Linked DNA regions of Homo sapiens: region 2 is linked to region 1. Evidence: promoter capture Hi-C in human tissues and cell types (Jung and others, 2019). All regions are on one chromosome and are shown on one strand. The core of a region is centred on a gene start or on the middle of the fragment in contact, and the rest is flanking DNA. Distances in the headings are between cores, read along the strand shown.

Region 1 (6,349 bases), core at 1,500-3,999:
AGCGACAGATGGAATGAAGGTCACTGGTCGGCGGACTCTGACAGGAGGTGCCCTGGGCCAGCTGGTGGCCCCATGTCATCACAAGGGGCCTTGACAGCAGATGAGGGAGGCAGGAGATCAGTGTCGGGGCCAACAGGGTGAGGACTCAACTGGCTTTGGCTGGCTTTCAGGTGTGGGATAGGCCACGAGACAAGGGGCTCAAGTGCTTCCAGAAACTGGAAAGGCCAGAACAGCTTCTCCCCTGGAGCTCCAAAAGCAATCGGCCCTGCAGACACCCTGATTTTGGCGGAGTGAGGCTGGGCTGGACTTCCGACCTACAGAACAGTTAGAGAATACATTTGCAGTTTTATTTATTTATTTTTTGAGACGGAGTCTTGCTCTGTTGCCTAGGCTGGAGTGCAGTGGCGCCATCTCGGCTCACTGCAAGCTCCGCTTCCTGGGTTCACGCCATTCTCCTGCCTCAGCCTCCCGAGTAGCTGGGACTACAGGCGCCTGCCACCACGCCAGGCTAATTTTTTGTATTTTTAGTAGAGAGGGGGTTTCACAGTGTTAGCCAGGATGGTCTCTATCTCCTGACCTCGTGATCTGCCCGCCTTGGCCTCACAAAGTGCTGGGATTATAGGCGTGAGCCACCGTGCCGGACACATTTGCATTTTTTAAAAAGAGACAGTTCTGGCCATGTTGGTCTCGAACTCCTGGCCTCAAGCAATCCTGCCTTGGCCTCCCAAAGTGCTAGGATTATGGGCGTGAGCCTCCGCACTCAGCCTAAATTTGCATTTTTAAGCGACTAAGTTTGAGATAATTTGTTATGCCAGCAGAAGAAAGCTAAGTTATCTTGGAGGTGATTTTTCTTTTTTTTTAGATGGAGTTTCTCTCTTGTTGCCCAGTTTGTCTCTTGGAGCCCCAGAGTGAAGGAGGCAGAACAGGCCCCAGGGCTCACCCCAGGCCGACCTCGGTGGGCTTGCGCAACACACAGGCATGATGTAGCCACCCTCCCATCCCCAGGCCCCCCTCAGCACTCCTCTTCGACTTTATTGACATTTATTTCCAAAACGTGACGATAGGCAAACTCAGATAAATGACACACATAGACCGCGTGAACCCTCTCATATTTACCAGATAATAAAATAGTAGCACTGACAAAGGCTCAATTTTTTTTTTTATTCTTCCCCAGAGACAGGCTCTGTTGCCCAGGCTGGTCTTGAACTCCTGGCCACAGGTGATCCTCCCACCTTTGTCTCCCAAAGTGTTGAGGTAAAAGGCATGAGCCACCGCACTCGGCCAATCTAATTTTTAAAAACACCTTTTCCTCACTGGCTGGAGCACGTTCTACTTTACTGGGAACTGAATGAATGTGCAACTCTAATTACAGCCCCTCCGAAGTGCAGTGGCTTGGGAACCTCCCGTTCCGGGAGGCGGCCTGCAGAGCCCTCCTCCTACAAGTGTGAGCACAGGGTCAGGGTTCCATCCAAGCGAGCACCTGCTTCCTATTTTCCGACTAATTTCGGTCCCCTGATACGGAATCCGGGATCCTGCAGACAGGCAGCGGGTGACAGCAAGCACAAGGGTGTTCGATGACACCTGGAGAGGTCAGGAGAGCCAGTCCTGCGGTGCAGAGGAAGAAACCCAGCACAGAGGCCAACAGAGCCAGCCCCAGCCTCTGCCAATAAAACATATAAATGAGCCCTGGGGGCTGGAGGAGGGCCACAGGATCCAAGCTGGCTGCCGGATCCGAGTGGGATCGGGGTGCCGACTGTGGGACATGGGTGGGATGGGGTGCCGGCTGCGGGACTCGGGTGGGATCGGGGTGCGGGCTATAGGACTGGGGCGGGATCGGGGTGTCATCTATGGGATCGAGGTGCTGGCTATGGGACTGGGGTGGGATCGGGGTGCTGGCTATGGGACTGGGGTGGGATCGGGGTATCAGCTATGCTATGCGATCGGGGTGAGTGCCGGCTGTGGGATCGGGGTGCCGGCTGCGGGACTGGGGTGGGATCGGGGTGCCGGCTGTGGGACAGCGGTGGGATCGGGGTGGGTGCCAGCTGTTGGGCTGGGGTGGGATCGGGGTGCCAGCTGCGGGACTGGGGTGGGATCGGGGTGCCGGCCGTGGGACAGCGGTGGGACCGGGGTGTTAGCTATGGGATTGGGGTGGGTGCCGGCTGTTGGGCAGGGGTGGGATCGGGGTGTCGGCTGTGGGACTGCGATAGGATCGGGGTGCTGGTTGTGGGACTGGGGTGACAGCTTGAGGGGTGACCGAGCCCTCCCGGCCGCTCCCGGATGCCCCTCGCCCTCCACGCTGGGAGCGCCGTGGCTGGCTGAGCCTCTGGCATGTTCCGCGTGAGTCCGCGCACCCTACAGCGTCCTCCTCCACAGCCTCGTGTTCAGGCGTCCGCCCCGCAGGGGAGTCCCCTCGCGCCCATTCACACACAGCAGCGTCCGGGCGAGGAGCGCCCGTACCTGGAGGCCTGAAGGTACCGCCCTGCCGCGCGTGGGCACTGCTCCCTGGCGCCGTCCGTCCACTGACCATCGTCCCTCGGCCCGGCCGCCCGCGCGGGGCAGGCAACGCCCGACCGGGGGCCTCGGGGACCAGGAGGAACCTGCGGCGTTAGGAGCTGACAGTGTCGGTCCGCGCACGCGCCCCGGGGCCCGTCGGGCCTTATTTCACGGCCCCGCCTTCCTCCTCCGCGAGCGCCAAATAAGTGTCCGGCCCTCCCAGCCCCGTGCGTGCGCGGCCCCGCCGCCTGCGTCACTAGGAAGCGCGCGCCCGCGCCGCCGCCGCCGCCGAATCCCCAACAAGGAGCGAAGCCCGCGGCCGCCGCCGCCGCCCGCCGCCGCCGCAGCTCCCGACGCCGCCGCCCCCGCCGGGTGCCTAAGCAGGCCCGGCGCGGCCCCAGGTAAGCGGCGCCGGCGAGCCCGCGGCCCCCCCGCGGCGAGGCCTCTCGCTCCGCTCACGCGCCGCCGTCCAGTCAGGGGTCCCTGCGGAGCGTCAGGACGTTACGGCGGGGGGAGGGGAGGGCCGGGGGAGGGGCGGCCGCGCGGGCGGCGGCGTCAGGCGCAACGGCGGCGTCAGGCGGGCGGCGCGGGCGGTGGCGGGCGCGGGCGGCGGCGCTTCCTGCCTCCATCTTGGCGCCGCGGGCGGGCGCGGGCTCGGCCTCCAGCGGCCTCCTCGGTGGACCCATCCCGGGGGGACCACGCCGCAGGGGTGCGACCCGCAGGGACCACCCCGCAGGCACCCGACCCGCAGGGACGCGACCCACAGGGACCACCCCGCAGGCACCCGACCCGCAGGGGCCACCACGCGACCCGCAGGGGCCACCCCACAGGGACGCGACCCACAGGGACCACCCCACAGGGACGCGACCCACAAGGACCACCCCGCAGGCACCCGACCCGCAGGGACGCGATCCCCAGGGGCCACCCCGCAGGCACCCGACCCGCAGGGACGCGATCCCCAGGGGCCACCCCGCAGGCACCCGACCCGCAGGGACGCGATTCCCAGGGGCCACCCCGCAGGCACCCGACCCGCAGGGACGCGACCCATAGGGACCACCCCGCAGGCACCCGACCCGCAGGGGCCACCCGGCAGGCACCCAACTCGCAGGGACGCGACCCGCAGGGATCACCCCACTGGGACCCACTCTCAGGGACCTGACCTGCAGGGACCACCCCACAGGGGCCCGCGTCACTGTAGGCTCACAGGCGGGACCTGGATCTGTGTAGACCCATGGTGGTGTGGACCCTGTTGGTCGGAGCTGATTTGTTGTGGGCCCGTCGTCAGTCATGGCATGTTATCTATTTGGTTACTGTGTAATTCATGCGTGACTGAAAAGTCGTGACTGACTTTTCTGTTGAACCAGAATTCTCTTTCTTTGCTAACACTTCAAATACAACAGTTTCAATTACATCAGTGTTGACCGTGCCGGTCAAGAATACTAGTTTAAAAATATTTTCTTGGGCCAGGTGTGATGGCTCACACCTGTAATCCCACCACTTTGGGAGCCCGACGTGGGCGGATCATGAGGTCAGGAGTTTGAGAGCAGCCTGGCTAACACGGTGAAACCCTGTCTCTACTAAAAATACAAAAGTTAGCCGGGCGTGGTGGTGTGCACTTGTAATCCCAGCTAGTTGGGAGGCTGAGGCAGGAGAATTGCTTGAACCCAGAAGGCAGAGGTTGCAGTGAGTGGAGATGGTGCCATTGCACTCCAGCCTGGGTGACGGAGCAAGATTGCGTCTCAAAAAAAAAAAAGTAAAATAAAATATTTTCTCATATCTGATTTACCTAATAATTTGGAAACTCACTTCACACTAGTGGGGAACCCAAGCCTTGGGATCAAAGCTGGGTGGGTCTTGGCTTCAACACAGAAGGGGCTGTGGAGAGGCCAGGTGTAGTGGCTCACACCTATAATCCCAGCACTATGGGAGGTCAAGGTGGGAGGATCACTGGAGGTCAGGAGTTCGAGACCAGCCTGGCCAACATGATGAAACCCCGTCTCTACCAAAAATGCAAAAATTAGCTAGGCGTGTTGGGTGCCTGTAGTCCCAGCTACTCGGGAGGCTGAGGCAGGAGAATCACTTCAACCCGGGAGGCGGAGGTTGCAGTGAGCCAAGATTTTGCCATTGCACTCCAGCCTGGGTGACAGAGCGAGACTCCATCTCAAAAAAACAAAGAAGGAGCTGTGGAGAGAGGAGGGGGTGCTCGCCCTTGGGAAGGCAATAGGGCGAGGTGCTCTATTCTATAGTGCTTCTTCTGTGTCTAAAGAGCATTGTATCAAGGACTTGCACTATTTTCTGTGAGGTAACTTTTGTGCATATTGCTTTGAACCTTTAATATAGTTGCCATTGGAGGCCAGGCTCAGTGGCTCACGCCTGTAATCCCAGCACTTTGGGAGGCAGAGGCGGGCGGATCACGAGGTCAGGAGATCGAGACTGTCCTGGCCAACATGGTGAAACCCCGTCTCTACTAAAAATACAAAAATTAGCCGGGCGTGGTGGTGGGCGCCTGTAATCCCAGCTACTCAGGAGGCTGAGGCAAGAGAATCGCTTGAACCCGGGAGGCAGAGCTTGCATTGAGCCGAGATCGGGCCACTGCAGTCCAACCTGGGCTACAGAGCGAGACTCCGTCTCAAAAAAAGAATATATGTATGTATGCAGTTGCCAATGGAGAGGCTGGAATTCAGTTTTGTGCGTGTACATTGCGTAATCCTCTGCAAAGCCCTGAAGCTGTGACGAGGACCCCTGCCTGCAGTGAGGCTGTTGCCTCTTTGCAGCTCTCTGCTTAAATGACTTTAGTTGCCCCTGCTGAGCTTACCCTTATGAAAGCAGCGTCTCCTCAGTGAGAGTTAAACCCCGAGAAGTCAGCACGGGAGATCAGTAGTATTTTAAATGAAATTTTTATTTTTTAATTTTAATTTTTTTTTTTTTGAGACAGAGTCTCGCTCTGTTGTCTAGGCTGGAGTGCAGTGGCACAATCTTGGCTCGCTGCAACCTCTGCCTCCGGAGTTCGAGAGATTCTCCTGCCTCAGCCTCCCAAGTAGGTGGGATTACAGGCACCCGCCACCATGCCCGGCCAATTTGTTTTTTTTTTTTTGTATTTTTAGTAGAGACAGGGTTTCATCATGGTGGCCAGGCTGGTCTTGAATTCCTGACCTCAGGTGATCCACCCGCCTCGGCCTTCCAAAGTGATGGGATTACAGGCGTGAGCCACCACGCCTGGCCAAATTTTTGAATTTTTTTTTTTTCTGAGACAGGGTCTTGCTCTGTCGCCCAGGCTGAAGTGTAGTGGTGCAGTCTTGGCACACTGCAGCCTCTGCCTCCCGGGTTCAAGCAGTTCTCTCACTTCAGCCTCCTGAGTAGCTGGGATTACATGGGCACACCACCACGCCCAGCTAATTTTTGTGTTTTCAGTAGAGACAAGGTTTTACCATGTTGGCCAGGCTGGTCTAACTCCTGACCTCAGGTGATCTGCTCGCCTCGGCCTCCCAAAGTGCTAGGATTATGGGCGTGAGCCACCACACCTGGCCTGAGTAAAATTTTAAAGTGGCTTTTTTTTTTTAAGAGAGAGTCTCACTCTGTCACCCAGGCTTGAGTGCAGTGGCATGATCTTGGCTCACTGCAACCTCTGCTGCCCAGGTTCAAGCGATTCTCCTGCCTCAGCCTCCCAAGTAGCTGAGATTACAGGCACCTGCCACCGCGCCCGGCTAATTTTTGTATTTTTAGTAGAGACGGGGTTTCACCGTATTGATCAGGCTGGTCTTTGAACTTCTGACCTTATGATCCACCCGCCGCGGCCTCCCAAAGTGCTGGGATTACAAGTGTGAGCCACCGCGCCCGGCCTAAAGTGGCTTTTTAT
Region 2 (6,349 bases), core at 2,278-4,777, 630 kb before region 1:
TTGGATATTTTGATGTTCAAATTTTAGACAAAAACAGCAAGAAAACACTCTTCCCAAATTGAACGTACTGTGACAAATACCTTTTTCTAACAAATGCAAAATCAGCTTCCTGGCTAAAGTTTAAGTGTAGGAGGGGCTGCTACCAGAACTTCCTACAGCCCCTCCTCAATTGCATGATACGCAGCTTTCCCAGCTCTTTAAAAATAACAACTACTTGTCTTACCTTCTCCCAACCTGCCTTCAAGAAGAAAAAGCACAGCATGTGTCACCTCTGAGCCTAACTATTAAAATACAGGGTAGCTTCAGCTAATTCACAAGAAAACACTTTTTCACGCGGAGAAGTCTTACTCTTCTTAAAACTACAAAAATATCCTTTCCAATTTTATACTTACCCCATGTAACTTTTTCAAAGTAACTGCTTTAACTTCATATAAAATGGTAATGCTTTACAAAACACCAGATACAAATTGTCAGGGAAAAAGACCACCAGACCTCATGAAGACATTTTCTGAAATGAACACAACCTTTTTAACAACTTGTTATAATTATGATGAAGTTTATACTTGCTTTCCTCCTCACATTCCTCTGGATTTCTAACAGTAGAATGAGGATCGTAAAGAAATACTGTGGGGTGACAAGGGGCCTGGGGCGGATTTCATACACACCCACGTACACAACTGGAGACAGCGGTGGGAGGTTTTCCCAGGAATGAAAATAATCACATAGTTTCTTACAAGTGAACAAAAAGTGTGAAGGGTATAGCTTAACACAAATTCTCTTCTATTTTTATGGTGGAACACTCAATCTTCACACTCAAGATTTTAGAGCTGAATATTAGGTTTTGCAAATCAATAGGATGGTCCAGTCATTAAATTTTCACACCCTTTTTGAATTTTTTGAATTGTTTCGGAGCCCTTGTTAGATTACGGTCCACAGCCAGCTGACTTAGACTTAGATGGAATTAAGTCCTAATGAGGTCAACTTTAATCCTGGATAAGCCACTCAGTTCTGAGGCTGCACCCTAGCCTACCACAGTCATCTTAAAATTTGGGTCAGTGGTTAAAAGCGGAATCATGTGTTTGGATGCTTAAGGGTCTATTTAGGAAAAGAGCTGGAAAATCGCATACCGTCCTCAGTCAAAGCCACCTCTTCACCCAGAAGCCTGTATATAATGTTCCAACATTGTCTCAATGCCACATCTCTAGAAGGTAACCTCAAACTGTATGTTGGATAGGTTTCATTTTCCACTAAGTAACTATCACTTATTTTGAACTCTGCCTTAATTTGAAAGTTCAGACAGCTTTTTAGTAAAAACAAGCACCTTTTTCCAGGTACCACCTGCCAGTCATGGCCTCATTTACACTTCACAACATTAAGAAGCAAATTGGAGCTGGCCGGTTAATTTGTTCATGATCACATAGCCAGTTTGTGAGGAGGGGGCTGCATTCAAACCCAGGACTGTATGGCAAAAGGCCTGTGTTTTTAATACCACACCAGTGCAGCTTTTAAAAATACTCAAGACAGCAACGTTCTTTACCACACAACACACCGGTAACCTTTTGACGATGGGGTAACCCTATCTATACCTATTGCCACTGGTAGGATCCATGTGAATAGCTGTGGGGTCTGATATTTATTACCATCTTTGTCTGGTAATCTAACACTCCCTCGCACTGAAAACCATCGATATGATCAGTCATGATGTCACCAAAAACACCGACAACAAAGCTCTTCGCCAAACCAAATCCTATCATTTTCACCCAGATTCTACAATCTGGTCAAATCCAATTTTTCAAAGTAAAAGTGTAGAATCATTTTTAGAACGCTGCACTCGATGATACTGTGCACATTGTCTGCTGTAATTAATCCTTAATATAATTCACTACTCTGTGGTAACTAGCAACAGTCCATAACAACCTGGCTGCTCCTTACAATGCGAACTGCCAGGGCACATGAAGAACACTTGCTGAGTGGCGACAGGCATGGGAAGGTCTCAGAACTGACACCTGAGTTGTGATTGTGGCTGTGTCAACACAAGCATGAAGCTATGGTAGTGGGGTTTTGGGAGGCGACATACGGAAGATCACATTCCAACTTGGATGTCACTTCTTTAGGGTAATATGGACAAAGTAATTCATTGTGGAAGATGAGTGGGGAAAAGGACCCAAAGCCACATCTCCTTTGGGCAGAATGATCAAACAAACACACAAACAGATTTCTCACCTTGAAAACCAGAACTCTTACAAGCAATGCAAAGGGACTTTTTTCAAATACAGATGGTCTCCGACTTCGGATGGTTCGACTTCAGGTTTAACGATGTGTTTACTGGGATGCGACCCCACCGTAAGCCGGGGAGCACCTATACTTGAAAGGCTGTCACATGTACACTATTAATGGGCCTAACAAAAGCCAGACCAGTGGTACATGTTGGAGACAATGCCTACTAAATACACAGAGAAGCTTTCTAACAAATGAAGTTGCAATGAATGAAAGGAGCTCTTGATAAGCCCAGCCAAGTTCCACTGGAGGTACGAGCTGGGGTGGCGCAGGGAGCAAGGCCCTGGATCGGTCACCTCTGAGGTCTCCTCTCATCACCTGAGTGTAGGGCTCTATTTCCCCCAAGCGTGGCCACAACAATTTCTGAGTTGCTTATAGGCACCTCAACTTCACTCATTCTTGAATGACAGTCTATCAAACGCCCAGATAGGAGCTGTTTAGCCATTCCCTTGAGAAGAAAAATGAAAACTATTCTAGTCACACGAGTAAAGAGGGGGTGGATAAAGAGGGCGTGGATATTTAGGTGACTTATTTGAGGTGCAACGCTGGAGCAAACATTCATTTAGGAGACACGTCCCTCTCACAAAAACAAAACAAAGGCCCGAAGCTCAGGCAAGTTCTCCTTCCTCCAACTAACAAAGATCTCTTTCCATGCGTGAATTGAAGTCCCAGTGCTCTGCTCCAATTCTTACTATCTCCAAGGCACGGGGCGGGGGGGCGCAATTATTTTTTTAAAAAATCCTGTCATCTTCTGAAAGGGTCCAAGGCAGACTTTGTTCTAAACCTTAGCTCTTGGCTTGCCTTGGAACTGCAAACGTTTCCCACTTGGGAAGTCAAAGACAAGCTGCAGGTCTGGACTAACCAGACCCAAGAGTGTGAGTGAGCAACGGGCACCGGGAGAGACCGACGGGAAACCGCGAGCGCTCGGAGAGAGAAACGCGGGACGCCCTGGAGGCCGCTGGGGGGAGGTGAGGGTGCCCGAGGTGGGGAGGAGCGACGCCCCCAGAGGAGAGCTCCGGGCGCAGGGGTGCCGGGGGTGGGGAAGGAGGAGGGAAGGGGCCGAGGGGACACACCACCCGCTCGCCGCAGGCCGGACCGAGGGGCGGCGGCGGCGGCGGCGGCTCTACCTCCAGGCTCGGCCGGCCGACGGGTTCGGACCGCCTGGGCTGCCACCTGCAGCTCCTCGGGCGCGTCCCTCGTGTGTCCGCGGCCGAGCAGCGCCGCTCCAACCTCGGCCGCCGTAAACATCCGCCGCCGCCGCCGCCGCCGCCGCCTCTGCGCCTGCGCACAACGGCCTGACTGCGCATGCGCCGCGGGCCTGGCACTTAAAGGGGTGATGGCGGCGCAGGGCGGGCCCCACTCCCCTGGGCTGCCTGCGTCCGCCCGCCCCGCTGAGAGCTCGCTGAGCCCTAGGCCGGGTCCGAGTCTCGCGGGCGCGCCGTCCGCGCAGTGCTCAGCCAGGACGGACCCCGCACGGGCTGCCTCAGAAGCCCTCCCTAAGGGTCACCTGAGACGCCTTTGCTGACCCACGGCTGGGGGCGTTCCGCATCTCCAGGGTGCCCTGCGGCTGCTGACTCGGGGCCGGCGCTGCCCTCGGGCGGCCTCCCAGCACCAAGCACAGCCGCCCTGGGACCCCCGCCCTGCCACGCGGACGGCCACCCGGCCCTGGGGCCCTCCTACCCAGCCGGCTTTGTGAAATCAGCTGTGAAAGGAAGATATCCTGGGCCCCCAAGATCACTAAGGAAAACTCCAGCAGGAAACTGCTTAGGGCAGGCCTGCTTCCCATTCCATTCAAAGTCACTCCTCTGCTCACTTAGATAGATACATATCTGATTTGCCTCCTTTGAAAAGGCAAATGAGAAACTCAAAAGAATTTAACCGTTGGTGTCTCACCTATCTGTGGCCTGGACGCTCCCTCCCCGCTTGGAGTCTTCCTGCCTTTGCTTCAAGTTGTCCCGTCTTTCCAGACCGAACCGATGTGCTTCTTACATGTATCGATGGATGTATCCTGTCTCCCTAAATGTATAAAACCAAGCTGTGCCCCGACCACCTTGGGCACATGTCAGGACTTCCTGAGGCTGTGTCACGGGCGCGTCCTCACCCTTGGCAAAATAAACTTTGTAAATTAACTGAGACCTGTCTCCCATTTTCTGGGTTCACACAGCCCATTGCCCAAACTTCGCGTGGGGCTTTGCAGATAGGCTGTAGCTGCAGAACCCTTTCTTCAAGCACAGCCATGCAAGCCGCCTCATATGTGCAAGTGCCAGCGTCGCTGGGGCGGACGAGTGGGCCTGGGTCTCCGGTTCCCGCCTCCCTCCTAACTCGGCATTCCTCCCCAGACCCTGGAGCTCCACTTAGGAGCAGAGTTTGAAAACCAAAGGCCGGTGCCTTCACCACGTTATGTGGTCCCAGGGAGACCTCACTTCTCTTGTTGATCCATGGTCCTGGATCCACGGACCTGAGGTGGCCCACCACCTCATGACCTTCATGGGGCTCTCAGTGTCCTTCCACCTGAGAGCTTGTGGTTATTTGTGACTGTTTCAAATTACAGAAGCCCTGGAGTCATCCTTGACTCTCTTCCTACTGCCAGGGGACACGTCCTCCATACATCCCTCCTTGCCCTGTCCCAGCTCCCCTCACCTCTCCCCACCCCTCCCACCATTCCCCTGGGCTCTGGCGAGTGGTCCTCCTAAAACAGGTGATCACATCACTGCTGTCTTCAGACACTCCCTTTGTTCCTGGACCCAACTGAGGGTCGGGCTACTACTTCTCCTGGCCCAATAACAAGATGCAAATGAGCTGGAGAGTAAGAGAGGTTTTATTTCTGTAACCGGTTACAAGGAGAAGGCCTGGAAATTATCACCATACCAACTCAAAATTACAAAGTTTTCCAAAGCTCGTATACCTTCTAAGCTGTATGTCTACATGTAAGTGTGCATTCATCTACAGACATAAGTGATTAACTTCTTTTAATCTATGACTAAGGTTGAGTCCTGAAGACCCTCTTCTGGAGCCTCAGTAAGTTTACTTAATCTAAATGGGTCTAGGTGCTGGGGTGATTACCCTTATCTTGTCTCCTGCTAAATCATAATGATATGGGGAATTCCTTTAGACCCCCATAAACTTGTTTGTGGAGGCCTGGGGAGTTTCTTCAGATCCCTAATACAACTTGTTTAATCCTAAAAAGGGTCCTGTTAAGAGTTCCTTCGTTATCTTGTCATGCTTCAAGGCCCAGGAAGAGCCTAGGCAAAACTCTTGGTGGGCTCTTTGTTACATTCCAACCTTTGTATAAGGGCATTGGCTCAATCAGCTTTTAATGTTTAACCTGGCTACTCAGTCCGTGCTGGGACAGCTGTAATGGAGGCCTGCGTTAGTGAGACCCGGCCTGCCACAACTTCAGACTCTTGCTTGGTTTTCCAAGGTGTCTCCACCATTCCCCTCCACATCAGCTTCCACTACCATCAGCATTCATAACCCTTCACAGGGTATATACTGAGCACTCTACATGGGTTATTTCCATGAAATAGGTACTAGTATGACCTCCAAGAAGAAAAGTGGACCGTGACATCAGGAGCTGGCCTGGCACTCAGATCGAGGCCATGGGGTCTCCTGTTGGACATAAATAATTTTGTAGAGGAGCACCATCATGATCCAAGGCCACGTCATAATTTTGTCTAAGCACAAACAAAAACAGGGTAACTGTGCCACCCACAAAATCTAAGACATATCATCTCCAAGTTAGTAACAATGACCCCCGCTCCTCTACCAGCTACAGCTGAGCCTCCCTCTGCCCTGGCCTCCTCACAGATAACATCTACTGAGATGCCCAGAGAACCACCCTTTCCCCCCATCCACTCCCCCAATTCCTGACAGCATCTAATCCATGAAAAAAATCACCCAACTCAAGCCCATAACCTTTAGTAACTTTTCCCGACACCTCTTACTGAGATGCCTTGCAGTTCTCCATGATCTGCATCCCTCTCGCTGCAATGAGTGATAATCCCAACTCATTCAATTACAGGCAGGTTCCTGGCAGCCTTTGGCTTGACGACACTGATACCTCCATTTTACA

Evidence for each region. Contacts are between HindIII fragments. The study calls those that stand out against the background at their distance.
Region 2: a contact is called between the fragment with the promoter of PCMTD2 here and the fragment with the promoter of GMEB2 in region 1, in 1 of the 25 tissues and cell types used here (dorsolateral prefrontal cortex).

What each region holds. Positions count from the first base shown.
Region 1 is chr20:63,623,501-63,629,849 of GRCh38, reverse strand. It overlaps GMEB2 (glucocorticoid modulatory element binding protein 2), which reads left to right and starts at 2,749. Exons shown (of 10, transcript NM_012384.5): 1 at 2,749-2,894. MHENCR (melanoma highly expressed competing endogenous lncRNA for miR-425 and miR-489) reads right to left here and starts at 2,615. Exons shown (of 2, transcript NR_132417.1): 1 at 2,458-2,615; 2 at 1,026-1,660. RefSeq lists silencers at 2,308-2,757, 2,848-3,387. The HindIII fragment of the contact is 46,766 bases long and covers 1-6,349 here.
Region 2 is chr20:64,252,926-64,259,274 of GRCh38, reverse strand. PCMTD2 (protein-L-isoaspartate (D-aspartate) O-methyltransferase domain containing 2) reads right to left here and starts at 3,527. Exons shown (of 6, transcript NM_018257.3): 1 at 3,405-3,527. The HindIII fragment of the contact is 11,329 bases long and covers 1-6,349 here.